5 separate regions of the Homo sapiens genome follow, and all the other regions are linked to region 1. The links are contacts of gene promoters, found by promoter capture Hi-C in blood cells and fetal thymus (Javierre and others, 2016). All regions are on one chromosome and are shown on one strand. The core of a region is centred on a gene start or on the middle of the fragment in contact, and the rest is flanking DNA. Distances in the headings are between cores, read along the strand shown. Region 1 holds the start of LRP1-AS (LRP1 antisense RNA). Region 2 has its middle 15 kb from the start of ATP5F1B. Region 3 overlaps NACA (nascent polypeptide associated complex subunit alpha). Region 4 overlaps PRIM1 (DNA primase subunit 1). Region 5 has its middle 5.3 kb from the start of PRIM1.

What was found. Contacts are between HindIII fragments. The CHiCAGO score rates a contact against its expected background, and 5 or more counts as called.
Region 2: a fragment that was not itself captured here is called in contact with the fragment with the promoter of LRP1-AS in region 1 in 1 of 17 cell types (monocytes); the score reaches 5.3 in monocytes.
Region 3: a contact is called between a fragment that was not itself captured here and the fragment with the promoter of LRP1-AS in region 1, in 2 of 17 cell types (M0 macrophages and M1 macrophages). The highest score is 6.4, in M0 macrophages.
Region 4: a contact is called between a fragment that was not itself captured here and the fragment with the promoter of LRP1-AS in region 1, in 3 of 17 cell types (total B cells, total CD8 T cells and activated CD4 T cells). The highest score is 5.7, in total B cells.
Region 5: a fragment that was not itself captured here is called in contact with the fragment with the promoter of LRP1-AS in region 1 in 4 of 17 cell types (M2 macrophages, M0 macrophages, total CD8 T cells and 1 more); the score reaches 6.9 in M2 macrophages.

The regions. Positions count from the first base shown.
Region 1 is chr12:57,146,216-57,149,077 of GRCh38, forward strand. LRP1-AS (LRP1 antisense RNA) reads right to left here and starts at 1,404. Exons shown (of 2, transcript NR_131938.2): 1 at 1,224-1,404. The region is part of intron 6 of LRP1 (LDL receptor related protein 1); the gene reads left to right. RefSeq lists enhancers at 18-946, 2,804-2,862. The HindIII fragment of the contact is 5,560 bases long and covers 1-1,938 here.
Region 2 is chr12:56,659,091-56,661,952 of GRCh38, forward strand. No RefSeq gene overlaps it. Among named protein-coding and RNA genes, the nearest start is that of ATP5F1B, 15 kb to the left of the region's middle. RefSeq lists silencers at 1,381-1,581, 2,693-2,742. The HindIII fragment of the contact is 2,808 bases long and covers 1-2,751 here.
Region 3 is chr12:56,719,760-56,722,621 of GRCh38, forward strand. It overlaps NACA (nascent polypeptide associated complex subunit alpha), which reads right to left. Exons shown (of 9, transcript NM_001365896.1): 3 at 1-1,700. Among named protein-coding and RNA genes, the nearest start is that of NACA, 4.1 kb to the right of the region's middle. RefSeq lists an enhancer at 1,057-1,176. The HindIII fragment of the contact is 4,291 bases long and covers 1-2,862 here.
Region 4 is chr12:56,738,608-56,741,469 of GRCh38, forward strand. PRIM1 (DNA primase subunit 1) reads right to left here. Exons shown (of 13, transcript NM_000946.3): 9 at 2,828-2,862; 10 at 687-756. Among named protein-coding and RNA genes, the nearest start is that of PRIM1, 12 kb to the right of the region's middle. The HindIII fragment of the contact is 3,398 bases long and covers 1-2,862 here.
Region 5 is chr12:56,756,210-56,759,071 of GRCh38, forward strand. No RefSeq gene overlaps it. Among named protein-coding and RNA genes, the nearest start is that of PRIM1, 5.3 kb to the left of the region's middle. The HindIII fragment of the contact is 3,519 bases long and covers 1-2,862 here.

The DNA of each region.
Region 1 (2,862 bases), core at 154-2,653:
AACCTTAAAAGTCAACATCTGGCAGCATCACATTTCCAAAGAAATGCACCACAGGGCTGAGAGGAAGAATCTGGCCTGTGGTTGATCTGACCCCCTAAGGGAGATTAACTTGATCTGTAACTGTTTAGTAAACCAGAATTCCCATCTCTGCCTTGGTTTCCTAATCTGCATAATGGGTTTGAGCTTGTCTGTCTAGATCAGATTAACTGGAGTGAAAGCCAGTGGTAAAGGACAGCACACTTTGAAGTTGAGGATTGTGAACCTTGGGCCTCTCTAGAAGATCTTCAAGTTTCTTTATTTGGTTCTTGTGATGAAAAGAAAGATCCCAGGAGGTTACAAGGGATTCATTCTGGGAGAGAGAAAGGCCCCTCCCCGGGATGGTGGCGAGCAGGGGTTCCTCTGAGAGCCCTCACTCTCCGTGGCCTCAGCGTAAGGTTCACATTTCTGCCTTTGGCTCCTCCAGAGCATCCCTGATAGCGTCCTTGGGCTGCTGCTGTCCACAGCTCACCTGTGATCAGACATGTGTCCTCCTTGGGGTGCTGAGCTGGGGGCTGTCAAGCCTGGTTGGCTGAGCTCTTAACGAGTGGGCGACTCAGGGAACCCCATGGCTGATGGGGTGGGATTGGTGCTAGACCCTCTTGTGCAGCTGCCCTCCCCCTGTTCCTTGTCCACTGACCTACTCAACAGGCCTGTCTGGGCAGACAGCTTGTCAGTTTCCTCCCCAGCCCTGCATCTTGCCATACAGTGGGCTTCTGGGTAGGTGGCTATGGGGTGTCCTGGAGGTAACCTTCTCAACTTCTACTCTGGCCTCATCTCCTTATCTGACTTCCTCCCCAGGAGAAGCTGGTACCCCTCCCTTGGCAAACAGATTTGCCTTGCCTCCCAGTCTGCTAAACTCACTGGGCCTCTCAGGGGCAGAGTCCAGGAGGCTAGAAGAGTCCAAGGGGAAATGCTTGTGGGGTAAATGAGTGGGTTTCTCTCATCCCAGCTTCTGTCCCTTCCTCCCTGCCCTCCCCCTGCTCCACGTCCCTGCCGCCTGAATGTCTGGCTGTCACCCTGAGGATGGTTGTTTTGCTCTCTCCCACAAACTAATTATGGGTCCCAAACTGAGGACGTCAGTGTCTCTCCCCTAGCCCCTCCCCCAGTTTCTGGGTCATCCCCCTCCCCAGGAGATGCTGACTGGCCTGCCCTGGTGTGTAGGGTGGCTGGTCCCAGGCACTCACCTGCACAGTGGCTGCTGGCCTGTAATTAGCTCCCCAAGGAGGACGAAGAAGAAAGGCTGCAGCTTTCCCCTGCTTTCACTCTGCCCTCCAGGGCAGCCCTCCCTGCAAGCCTTCCATTCTGTGCTGTGACTGTGACCTCTGTTGGACCCCTGGGGCTGAGCCTCATGCAGCAGGGGTGCACACAGAGGGAGGAGTCTGACAATTGAGGGGTGTTCGAGCCAGCGAGGCCAGCCCGCTGGTGCAGGCAGAAGGGGGAGCCTGCCCCAGAGAAAACTCTGGAAGCAGAAATAGAATAGAAAGAAGGAAGGAGGCCAGGAAATGAGCCTGGTTCACATGTGTCCTGGGCCATGTGAGTCAGACCTGTTGTGGAGTCCTGAGAGCCCCCGAGGGCCCCCCTGAGGCCCTGCAGTGTGTGAACATTCCTCTTCAATGCCCCAGGGCTGCTGACCCTCCTGCCTCAGGCCCAGTGTTATCCCCCTGGATTGGGTGGGTCATCTCTTTTCCTCCCACCTGAGATTACCTCCCCCTCCCCTCTGCCGCTGGCCCAGTGGTTTGGGGAGGTCTATGAGGCTCGAATTCCAAGACCAGAGAACTCCATGGTGAGAGCCGGAAGAGAAGGCAAGACCCTTGGCCAGTACCAAGAGCAGCCCTGGCTTTCACTACTGCTTTCTCAAAGGGGCTATGCATTGATTTGATTTTAGATGGTACCTGGACAAGCTTTTTTTTTTTTTTTTTAACTGTTATAGTTACGTTTTTATTTGATATGCATTAGGAAACTCCTGTAACTAGCACATCAAATCTGTTACTTCAGCAATTGTTTAGCATGCAGCGAAATAAGAAAAGTAAGTTAATTGAAATAACTGGTAATAAACAGTAGCGCAAGCTGTACATAAGCATGGTAGACATTTTGAAAGTGATACACAAAAGACTAAAGTTCTGAAAATTGAGGCCCAGAGGGATCAACAGGCCTGATAGTCCCTTAGTCAGGAACCAGGCCTGCGCACTCTCACCCCCACCTCTGACCAGTCTCTCAGCTCCAGAGGCCTATGGAGCCTGTAACCCAGCTTTGTCCAGCCTCCTGCCAGGCTGCCCCTGGGCAGGCCTGGTGGTGCAGTCTACCGACCCCAGCCCAGCCCTGCATTTCCTAAGCTGAGCTCCTCTGATCTGTATTCCCTTCACCTTGGAGGATGCCACCACTGTAGAAAGAATGAGGCAGACTGCAAGATTGGGGTCCTGGGAACATGGGTGTGTATGGTGAGGGGAGGTTCTGAGGTTGTAAATAGAGGCCTTGAAGGAAATCGGGTTTGCTGAAGTCACTCAGGAGTTTGGACTGTGTGTGAAAGGATGGTCTGAAGGGGCTCTCAGAGGTCTCAGGGTTCCCCTCCCTGCACCATGCTGCATGGGGAAGAAGGAGGTGGCTGGGGAGCTCAGCAAAGGGCCCCTAGGCTGCAGGCAGCAAGGTTGCGAAATGGGTCCCAGGTCCAGCTGGCCAACTTCACTTTTCCCTTCCTCTCCCTTTCTTTTATTTATTTATTTTTTTAGTGTGTGTGTTTTCGAAATCACAACAGGAAATGGGGTAGTGATTTGTCTAGAGGGGAGGCAAAGAAGGGGCAGACAGCAGTCCCTCTGAGTCTAATGA
Region 2 (2,862 bases), core at 98-2,597, 490 kb before region 1:
TTGATTGTTTGAGAATAGGTTCAAGATGAATCACAGCGCAATAGAAATAGGGAAGTAACTAAAGCTATAAAGGCTAATTAGCTGTGAGGCCAGAGAAGGAACAGTGGTTGAGGGGCAGTTAGACTGCATGACACTTAGTTGTAGTATAAGCAGCTTTGCAGTTCTTTCACTCATGATGATGAGATACATAATGGGAATGGGTTGCTAAGTACTCAACTGAAGGCCATTGGATTTGAGATTAAGAAATTTAGGATTGGGGCTGGGCAGGGTAGCTCACGCCTGTAATCCCAGCACTTTGGGAGGCCAAGGTGGGCAGATCACCTGAGGTCGGGAGTTTGAGACCAGCCCGACCCACACAGAGAAACCCCATCTCTACTAAAAATACAATATTAGCTGGGCTTGGTGGCGCATGCCTATAATCCCAGCTACTTGGGAAGGCTGAGGCAGGAGAATCTCTTGAACCTGGGAGATGGAGGTTGCAGTGAGCTGAGATTACGCCACTGCACTCCAGCCTGGGCAACAAGAGCAAAACTCCGTCTCAAAAAAAAAAAAAAAAAAGAAAAGAAAAGAAATTCAGGATTGGCCTGGCACAATGGCTCAATCCTGTAATCCCAGCACTTTGGGAGGCTGAGGTGGGTGGATCACTTGAGGTCAGGCGTTTGAGACCAGCTTGGCCAACCAGGTGAAACCCCATCTCTACTAAAAATACAAAAATTAGCCAGGAGTGGTGGCACATGGCTGTAATCCCAGCTACTCAGAGAGCTGAGGCAGAAGGATCGCTTGAACCTGGGAAACAGGCTGCAGTGAGCCGAGATCATGCCTCCATGTCAAAAAGTGACTCCGTGTCTAAATAAATAAATAAATAAATAATTTAGGAGTGAGTTCTGGATAAGTTCTTCACATGAACAATGAAATTACCCAGACTGACAATACAACTTGCGAACAAATGATTTGTCACTTTAGACTATCTGGGAAGAGCAAAGCAAGCCTGGCAATATCATTATTTTTTTCTTTTTGAGATGGAGTCTAGTTCTGTCCCGTGGGCTGGAGTGCAGTGGCTTGATCTCAGCTCACTGCAACCTCCACCTCCTGGGTTCAAGCAATTCTCCTGCCTCAGCCTCCTGAGTAGCTGGGATTACAGGCGCATGCCACCATGCCCAGCTAATTTTTGTATTTTTAGTAGAGACAGCATTTCACTGTGTTGGCCAGGCTGGTCTCCAACTCCTAACCTCATGATCTGCCCGCCTCGGCCTCCCAAAGTGCTGGGATTACAAGCGTGAGCCACCGCACCCGGCCAAGCCTGGCAATATCTTAAATGAGTTGTCACCAAGCCTTATTTGACCACCTACATATACCTGGATTCCAGATCCCATTACCATTGCCTAAATTTAGCCCTTCATCTCTTACCACTTGAATTACTGCACAAACTTGTTTCTTTACCTCCAAATCCACCTGCAAAACATTACTCATGCTATGGTATTTCTGAAATGTATTTCACCATACTGTGTTGAGGGAAAGATATTTGGTGGCGATATACGACGCTTTTTACTAGCAGGAATAGACATTCAACATTTAATTGTGGTCAATGTTTAAATGAAACCCACAGATCAGCCTGGCCAACATGGTGAAACCCCATCTCTAGTAAAAATATAAAAATTAGCTGGGCATGGTGGCACACGCCTGTAGTCCCAGCTACTCGGAAGGCTGAGGCAGGAGAATTGCTTGAACCTGGGAATTCAGAGATTGCAGTGAGCCGAAATTGTGCCACTGCACTCCAGCCTCAGCGACAGAGCGAGACTCTGTCTCAAAAAAACAAAAAACAAAAAAACACAATTGTCCCTTGGTATATTCCAGAGGAGTGGTTTCATGACCCCTCCACCACCAAGCATACCAAAATCAGACAGAACCCTCCGTATTCATGGGTTTGGCATTTTACAAATACTGTATTTTTGACCTGCATTTGGTTGGAAAAAATCCACCTAAAAGGGGTTCAAACCCATGTTGTTCAAGGTTCAAGTGCTCAAGGATGACAGAATGTAGGGGTTAGAACAGGCCTTTACAAAAATCCTTAGAATTCACTGTTAAAATTCTCCATCCTACTGCCACCCTAGAACTCCATTTCAGTTGTCCTCTTATTTGCACAGGCTGCTAGATTCGACCAGGAAGTCCTACTCTGTATTCCCTATTACACCCTTAGTTATCAATTTATTTAATCACTATCAAAGCAACTAGATGTTAAGTTTTTCACAAAGTGCCAGCCTCCTCCCTACCTAGCCTACATCTTTTCCTATTTGGTACAATGCTGGGTGATCCACAAATAAAAAATTGTATTTTCAAAAATTTCTCAAAAGAATTCCTGCTAAACAGGAGAAATTTCAATTAGCTTAGAACTAAAATGGGGGAGAAAACCTTCATGCTACTGTAGCAATCACCCTCAATCTGCCCTCCTTGGAAATAGCTAAGTTTAGGGAACCGTATAGCACCAATATCACAACCTATCAATATGGACAAAAAATATGCTATACCCATTCATCTAAACTTAAAAAATTTCACTCACAATCTTAAATTGATCATTTTTTTTTTTTGAGAGGGGGTTTTGCCATGTTGGCCAGGCATGAGTCACCACGCCCAGCCCAGAACATTTTTTGAGACAGTCTCGCTCTGCCGCCCAGGCTGGAGTGCAGTGGCGCCTCAATGGTGTGATTACAGAATTGAGCCACCTTGCCCGCCCCAGAAAATGTTCTTAACAGAAGCTTTGAATTAGAGATGAGGTACAACGCACAAGGTCTGATACCTAAGCAATAAGGACTGATGAAAACCTGTTCAAATGTTTGAACACAAAATATTTAAAATTATAGCCAG
Region 3 (2,862 bases), core at 167-2,666, 430 kb before region 1:
TAGGGTGGCTTCAGGAGAAAGAGGTATCTCTGGAGAAGAGGATGTACTTTGGAAAGAAGGGGAATTTTTAGGGGCTGCCTGGACTAACGGTAATACAGTAGGGTCTTTCTTGGTGGTGAGTCCTGCTTGGGCTGGAGAGAAAGGGGCTCCTTCAAGAGAGGCAGGTACAGTTTGGAGGTCTTTTTGTGTTGGAAATTTAACCAATACTGAACTGGGGAGATTTTTGAGGTCTTCAGGGTCTGGCAGAGGAGGAGAGACTGGTATCCTCAGAGTGGTTGCTACTTGAGTAGAAGGCTCTTTGGGAGCCACAGGTGCCATAACCAAGGCAGCAGGGGAAGTTGGTTCTATGTTACTTATGGGACCTGATGACATTGGAGGAGAAACACAAGTAGCTACCTCAAAGGTAGTAGTAGGTGCTGCAGCAATTGTACAGGGGTTAGTCACCACAAGTGGGGTGGTTCCAACAGAAGAAACGGGCATTTGGGCCACTAAAGGATAATGATAAGTGGCATTAGGAGAGCTTTTGAGAATGAGAGAGGTTGTAGGAGATAATGAAAAAGAGGTAGCTACATTTAAGGAGCCAGAAGGGCTGCAGGTTATGCTAGAGATGGTAGAGGGACCTTTGTCAACAGATGGAGCCACCACTGGAAAGGCAGCCACAGTAGCAGGAACTACCTCATTTCTGGAAGGAAGGGGAGGAATTACAGATCTCTGAGAAGGATAAGAGGCCCCTGTGGAAGAATGATCTACAGAAATGGTCTTCACTGTAGGGTCTGACAAAGCACTAGGACCTGTTTGACCTAAAAGTTGGACAGAACCAAAAGAACTCTGATGTAAAGGTGCAAGATGAGAGCCCAGAGAAATGGGAAAATCTGGGGGGGTGTTGGGACCCGCAGTCTTTTGAGAAGAGGTCACCACAGGAAGAGACTGAGTTGAAAGAGATAAGGCAGCAGGTGGACTAACAGGCCCCTTCAGGCTGAGGCTTCCTGGGTTTTGTGGAGAAATCAGAACTGAGGAAATGGTGGTATCTTTGACTTGAGGGGAAGCGATGGCTAGGGTAGTTGTGGGTGTTGTCTGAGGAAGGGAGGCCACTCCAGATTGAATAGAGGCCATGGGAGTCACACAGTGGTAAGGAACAGTACTGACTATACATGGAGGGCTGGGGGTGCCTTTTGGATTAGGGACTACCTCAGAGGGAACTTTATTAAGATTAGTCTTTGGTTCTGAGGGAGCAATGGGAGCTGACAGAGTTATCACTGACCCTGACTCAGCTACAGCCACTGAAGGAGGTGAAGTAAGAAGGTTAGGTGGAAAAGCAGAACTCTTCTGAACTGAGTGGGGAGCCAGGGCAACCAGAGCTAAGGGAGCTGAAGAGGAAGGGGTCCCTTTCAGAGTTGGAGCTATCATGGGAGAGGCTAGAGCTAAGGCAGCTGGGGAGATGGGAGGCCCTATTAGGTTTGGTAGGAAGGTTGGGGCTTCAGGGGCAGTTCCCAAAGGTAGGGCTGTTCCAGAGGATGACTGGGGAAAAGGAACTTCTAAAGGGGTCGAGGCAATAGTAGAGGGGGAAGGGAATGGGGAAGCCTGGTTAGCAGCTGAGAGAGGGCACTGTTGTGGGGCAGGAGAGCAAGGAGGGGGGAGGGTAGGTCCAGGCTGCCCTAAGGCAGCAGTGACACTCAAGGCTGAAGACATAGGTAGCACAGCTGGAGAAAGGCAAAAGGAGATAAAGAAAGGGGGAGGGGGAGGAGAAAAAAGGTGAGTTATGCAGCCCAACTTGGTACAACATGCCTCCTAGGAAACACTGGAGTTTAAAATCTGACAGTCTAAGTCACCACGCAGGATTAGATAAAGGTGACAGGCAACAACAACCTTCCCCAAACATTTTTCAGTGGTCAAGTGAGAAGACATTCCCCTCCTAATTTCTCACACTTCCCCAAGTTCTACCAAAGTAAACCAACTATTTTAGGGTGAGGAGAACAGTCTAAGAGCAGCCTATCTCTAAATGGGGAGCACAGACTCTTGGTAGGTTGAGAACAACATGCTTTCTATCCTTTCCCAGTTGTGCCCTCCCCTTACTTCTTGAAATGGACTGTATTCCCAAGTCTTTCTCACAGCCAACAGAATTCCCACGAGAAGAACAGCTGTGCTACTCTGTCCACCCAAATATCATGAACAGAAAAGATACTGAAAACTGGAACAAAGAAGTTAGTGAGCAGTGACGATGATGGGGAATCTGAACTGAATAAGAAAACACAGGCTTTTATACTTTCAGGCTTCCACTAGGCTAGGAAACATCTGACTCTGTTAGAATAGTTTTGGGAAGGAGGTGCACAGCACAATTCAGTTCTTCCTAAAGTTGAAACACTTCAGAATTTAATATCAAGTATTAAAGTCACTTAGCTTCTTTATACCTTACCAGTTTACTTACTCACAAAACCCAAACAAGAAAACCAACCACAAAAGGACTGTAATAGTCTCTATAAACCTTCCTAGGTGATGTTAATTCTTCAGACATCAATCCAAGATGAATTAGACATGAATTAGACCTCCAGGCAGAGAGCTTACTCACAAGGGTAGGGACTGTATTATGAAACTGTAACCTAACTTGTTAAACCAGATTGTGGTGCTATTTTGGAAGAAGAGAATTGGAGAGCCTGTAACAGTGGCTCATGCCTGTAATCCCAGCACTTCGGGATGCCTGGGAGGGCGGATCACGAGGTCAGGAGTTCCAGACCGACCTGACCAACATGGTGAAACCCCGTCTCTACTAAAAATACAAAAATTAGCTGGGCGTGGTGGTGTACACCTGTAATACCAGCTACTCAGGAGGCAGAGGCAGGAGAATGGCTTGAACCCAGGAGGTGG
Region 4 (2,862 bases), core at 255-2,754, 410 kb before region 1:
GTGGTGCGATCTTGGCTCACTGCAACCTCCGCCTCCCAGGTTCAAGTGATTCTTCTGCCTCAGCCTCCCAAGTAGCTGGGACTACAGGCATATGCCACCAAGCGCAGCTAATTTTTGTATTTTTAGTAGAGACAGGGTTTCACCATGTTGGCCAGGATGGTCTCGATCTCTTGACCTTGTGATCCACGCGCTTTGCCCTCCCAAAGTGTTGGGATTACAGGCATGAGCCACCGCGCCTCACCACGAACAAGAGAAGTTTAATGTTGGTTTCTGATCAGCATTATCCAGTGTATAATAGCATGTGAATCCCATAAAATTTACTGTAAAAAAATTATGCGGCCAGCTAAATTTGGGATATTCTAAACACCATGATCTCTTCTTGGAGTTTTTCATGCATATTATCATATGAAAGACTGTGAAATACTGTAGTAAAAGATACTTTTAATCTGTTTAAGTCAGAATTTCCTAAATTTACTTGACCTTAAAATCTTTTTCTTACATAACAGCAGGTGAAAATCTTGTATTGTTCTATTAGGGCATCGTCATCTAACCTTTGAACCTTATTTGGTTTCCATAACCAAATATACCATTCCCATGCAACTACTTCTCTAAGGAGGCTAATTCAATTTATTTAAAATTCATAACAACAATTACAAACAAGGAGTGATCAATGATCTGAAACATACCTTATGGTCGGAACAGTAAATGGATCAAACTGGTCCACTTTCTGCAAATCAATAGGCACAGATATGCGACCTGTAAGACACAAAAGTTATAAACTGATGATTGTGGACTATAAATCATTATAGTCATCTCCTACAGGTTATTTTTGGTTAAAATTTTTATTTAAGGCTTAGACAAAGGGTTAAACTTATCTGTTAAGAAGAGTATTTAGAAATATAAATTACTTTCACATTAGCTGTGCCCTTACTCTTTTTTAGAGTTAATGCCTCACTTTGTCACCCATGCTAGAGTACATACAGTAGCATGGTCATAGCTCACTGCAGGCTTGATGTCCTGGGCTCAAGTGATCCTCCCACCTCAGTTGTCTCCCAAAGTGCTAGGATTATAGACGTGAGCTACTGCTCCTGGCCTGGCCAGTTTTTCAATTTTTGTTGAGTTGGGGTCTCACTATGTTGCCCAGAACTCCTGGCCTCAAACAATCCTCTTGCCTCAGCCTCCTGAGTTGCTGGGATTACAGGTGTGAATGACCATGTCCAGCATGCCTTTTATTTCTCTTTAAAAAACCAGCCAGGTGCAGTGGCTCACGCCTGTAATCCCAGCACTCTGGGAGGCTGAGGAGGGTGGATCACAAGGTCAGGAGTTCAAGACCAGCCTGGCCAAGATGGTGAAACCCCGTCTCTACTAAAAATACAAAAATTAGCTGGGTGTGGTGGCGGGTACCTGTAATCCCAGCTACTTGGGAGGGTGAGGCAGAGAATTGCTTGAACCTGGAAGGCAGAGGCTGCAGTGAGCCAAGATCGCGCCACTGTACTCCAGCCTGGGTGACAGAGTGGGACTCTGTCTCGAAAAAAAAGGAAAGAAAAAAAACAAAAACAAAAACCAATAAGCAAATGTGAAGACTGTTGAGCTATTTCCCAGTTGCTCTTATCCCTACTTTTATTTCTATATTTAGAAATAAAGTATATTTAAATATTCCATATTTAAGTTCAGAACAATCTCAGAGTTAGTGAGTCCTGAAAATAGAACAAAATAGATGAAACTATAATATTTACATTGGCTTGGTTTATTTGAGATCAATACAGATACCCACATGTCAGACACCTTTAAAAAGCATTTAGGAAATAAAATAGAAATTCCTCTACTCTTTTATAATACCCCCCTAGGATACCATATAGAATTTAACACATCTCAAAAGTGACGTAATGAGGCTGGGCGCAGTGGCTCTTGTCTGTAATCCCAGCACTTTGGGAGACTGGGGCAGGTGAATTGCTTGAGCTCAAGAGTTCAAGACCAACCTGGGCAACATGGCAAAACCCTGTCTACAAAATATTAGCTGGCTGTGGTAGCACATGCCTGTAGTACCAGCTACTCAGGAGGGTGAGGCAGAAGGATCGCTTGAGCCGATCGGTGAGCCGAGATTGCACCAGTGCACTCCAGCCTGGGTGACAGAGTGAGACTCTTTCTCGAAAAAAATTTTTTTTTGTTTTTGTCAGTGCTAGGAGTAGAGTTCATTTCATTTCTTTCTTTTTTTCTTTTTTTTGAGACAGGGTCTCACTCTGTTGCCCAGGCTGGAGTGCAGTGGCACCATCACAGCTCACTGCAGCCTCAACTTCCCAGGCTCAAGTGATCCTCCTGCCTCAGCCTCTTGAGTAGCTGGAACTACAGGCATGCACCACCACGTCTAGCTAATTTTTGTATTTTTTGTACAAAGGGTGTTTAGACATGTGGCCTAGGCTGGTGTTAGACTCTGGGGCTCAAGTGATTTGCCCACCTTGCCCTCCTCAAGTGCTGGGATTACAGGAGCAAGCTACCACATACAGTCACACACAATTTTTTTTTTATGACCTTGGATGGGTTACATCTTGGGCCACTGTTTTCTCATCTGTACAATGAGAGCTGTTGTCCTAAGATTTTGATGGTCCTCTCCAAATCTAATATGGAACCTCAGAAACCCAACTGAAAAACAGTTACATAGTAGAAACTCATCTGGTAGCTACTTAACTGACTTAGGTATTGGGTGACAGAGCAATTCTTCTACCTTTAAATCATAGACATTATATATATTCAGACCTAATGCCATGCTTACTAAAGCCAATAGCAACTCATTTTTCTTTTAGTTTTCCTTAGTTTCCTTGTGTAGTACCTGTTTTAGGATGAACACTAAAAGGGCTCTTCAGT
Region 5 (2,862 bases), core at 156-2,655, 390 kb before region 1:
TTTAGTAGAGATGGGGTTTCACCATGTTAGCCAGGATGGTCTCGATCTCCTGACCTTGTGATCCACCCGCCTCAGCCTCCCAAAGTGCTGGGATTACAGGCGTGAGCCACCACGCCTAGCCTCTTTTTTTTTTTTTTTTTTTTTTTAACGCTTTTCCTGTTTGGAAGGAAAAAGTGCAGCTCGCTGCCAGCAGTCATTTAATTTTACATAAGCATGCTCTTTGAGGCTGAAACAAATCTGACTGATTTCCAATGTGAAAATAAAATATAAAAACTGTTCTTGGAGTTCTTTCTCTCTCTCTCTCTCTTTCTTTCTTTCTCTTTCTTTTTCTTTCTCTCTCTCTCTCTCTCTTTCTCTCTCTTTCTTTCTTTTGAGGTAGAGTCCCGCTCAGTCGCCCAGGCTGGAATGCAGTGGTGCAATCTCGGCTCACTGCACCCTCTGCCTCCCAGGCTCGAGCCATTCTCCTGCCTCAGCCTCCTGAGTAGCTGGGATTACAGGTGCCTGCCCACATGCCCGGCTAATTTGTGTATTTTTAGTAGAGATGGGGTTTCACCATGTTGGCCAGTCTGGTCTTGAACTCCTGACCTGAGGCGACCCACCCACCTCATCCTCCCAAAGTGCTGGGATTACAGGTGGGAGCCACTGCGCCTGGCCTCTTGGAGTTATTTCTAAACAGAACTAACATTAAAGTCATTGGAATAATTAGAATTGTGGATTAATCAAAGAATGATGTTAACATCATACATAGGAATTCAGCATTTTCTAGGATTTGACAGTTTTAATGATCAGAATTACTGTATTTTGTAAGTGGAAGTACCACTACTGAAAACAGAATGCTGTTAATAGAATGATGTCTTTTGTTTCCAAAGTCAGTAATACTAGAGCAATATGAAAATAATAAAAGCAAGATATTTCACGGCAAAGTTATCTCTGGATAAATGCTGCAGCTACAAGTGCTGCCAGCAAGTATTCTTGGGGCAAATGGGAAAAGGGTTAAATTTTAAATTTATTGTTATTTTTATTTTTTGTAGAGATGGGATCTCACCGTGTTGTCCAGGCTGGTCTCGAACTTCTGGGCTCAAGCAATCAGCCCACCTCGGGTATATTAAGTATATTCAGAGGAACGGGCCAGGCCAGGTGGCTCATGCCTGTAATCCCAGCACTTTGGGAGGCCGAGACAGGCAGATAATGAGGTCAGGAGTTTGAAACAAGCCTGGCCAGCATAGTGAAACCCCATCTCTACTAAAAATACAAAAAAATTACTAGCCGGGCGTGGTGGCATGTGCCTGTAGTCCCAGCTACTCGGGAGGCTGAGGCAGGAGAATCGCTTGAACCAGGGAGTCGGAGGTTGCAGTGAGCTGAGATGGCGCCACTGTACTGCAGACTGGCGACAGAGTGAGACTCCATTTCAAAAAAAAAAAAAAAAAAAAAAAAAGTGCTCTGGCATAGAGGCCTTTATCTCAAATGCCACTGGGAGGCAGTATCACCATTCAGTTTGTTTCCCTTTGTGATTTCATACACATAGGTGCAAACCCCTTTTTTCCTTCAGTCCTTATGCTACCTGGCTCTACCATCGTTTTTAGTCTTTTTTTGTGGTATATCTATCAGCCTCAAGTTTCTTGCCCCATGTTGTTTGCAGACTTCGACACTTGCCTCATTGATTGCCTGTCTAGTTTAAGTCCTATTGTTATTCTGGGTGTTTTTAGCATCTGAAAGGATGATCTATTCTGTAAAGGTATGGTTGATTCAGTCATTCATGAATTCATTCATTTATTCCACAAATAGTTAATGAACATATGTGTTGGGCACTGAGATGAACTGTGGGGAAAATAATTAATGACATTATTTCTGCTTCTGAGAAAGCTATATCATACTAGGGGCAATAGACACAAATAAAAAAGTGTAATGAATGAGCTGGGCATGGTGGCTCATGTCTGTAATCCTAGCATTTTGATAGGCAGAGGCAGGTGGATCACTTGAGCTCAGAAGTTTGAGACCAGCCTGGCCAACATGGCGAAACCCCATCTCTACAAAAAATACAATAATTAGTGTGGCATGGTTGCTCATGCCTGTAGTCCCAGGGAGGCTGAGGTGGATTGCTTGAGCCCAGGAGGTTGAGGCTGCAGTGAGCTGTGATTATGCCACTGTACTCCAGCCTGGTGATAGAGCAAGACCCTGTCCCCCCGCCCCAAAAAAGCGTAATGAAGTATTATAGGTGCATTTTTAACCCAACTGTCTATTTGTTTTGCCATGTTCTTAAGACATGGATAAGATTAGTACAGGGAACACAGGCACAAAAGTATAAATGGCACTTTTGGGAAGCTGCCAATAGTTTCATATGGACAGAGCCCAGACTTCAAGGGAGGGTATAGTGAGAGATGGGGCTAAGAGGTAAGCCATGGTCAGAGCATTGCCTGCCAAGTTAAGGAGTGTGGAAGTAAAAATTATTCATCATCTACTTTATTTGGTTAAAATGAAAATAAACTATTGATCCTATTAATATTTGACAAGAAGCCTTGGGAGTTAAAATCCTGTTGAAGTAAGTAAGTTGCTTGAAAACTTGGAGTACTCCTATGTTAGTTATTTTCCTTGTTAATAAAATAAAGAAGAGAAGATTAGAAAATATGTTACAGGACCAACAGGTTTGTATGCCCACTGCACAGCAACATACCAATACACTGAGACAGTAGGGTTTGCAGCAGAGAAAGAGTTTAATGATTGCAGGGCGGCTGAGCAAGGAGATGAGAGGAGATCTTCAAGTCCATCTCCCTGAGGAGTTCTGGGCTGGGGTTTTTAAGGGGATTGTGGAGAATGAGGGACTGGAAAATTGGGGTCATTGAGTGGTTGGGGTCAAAGGGATGA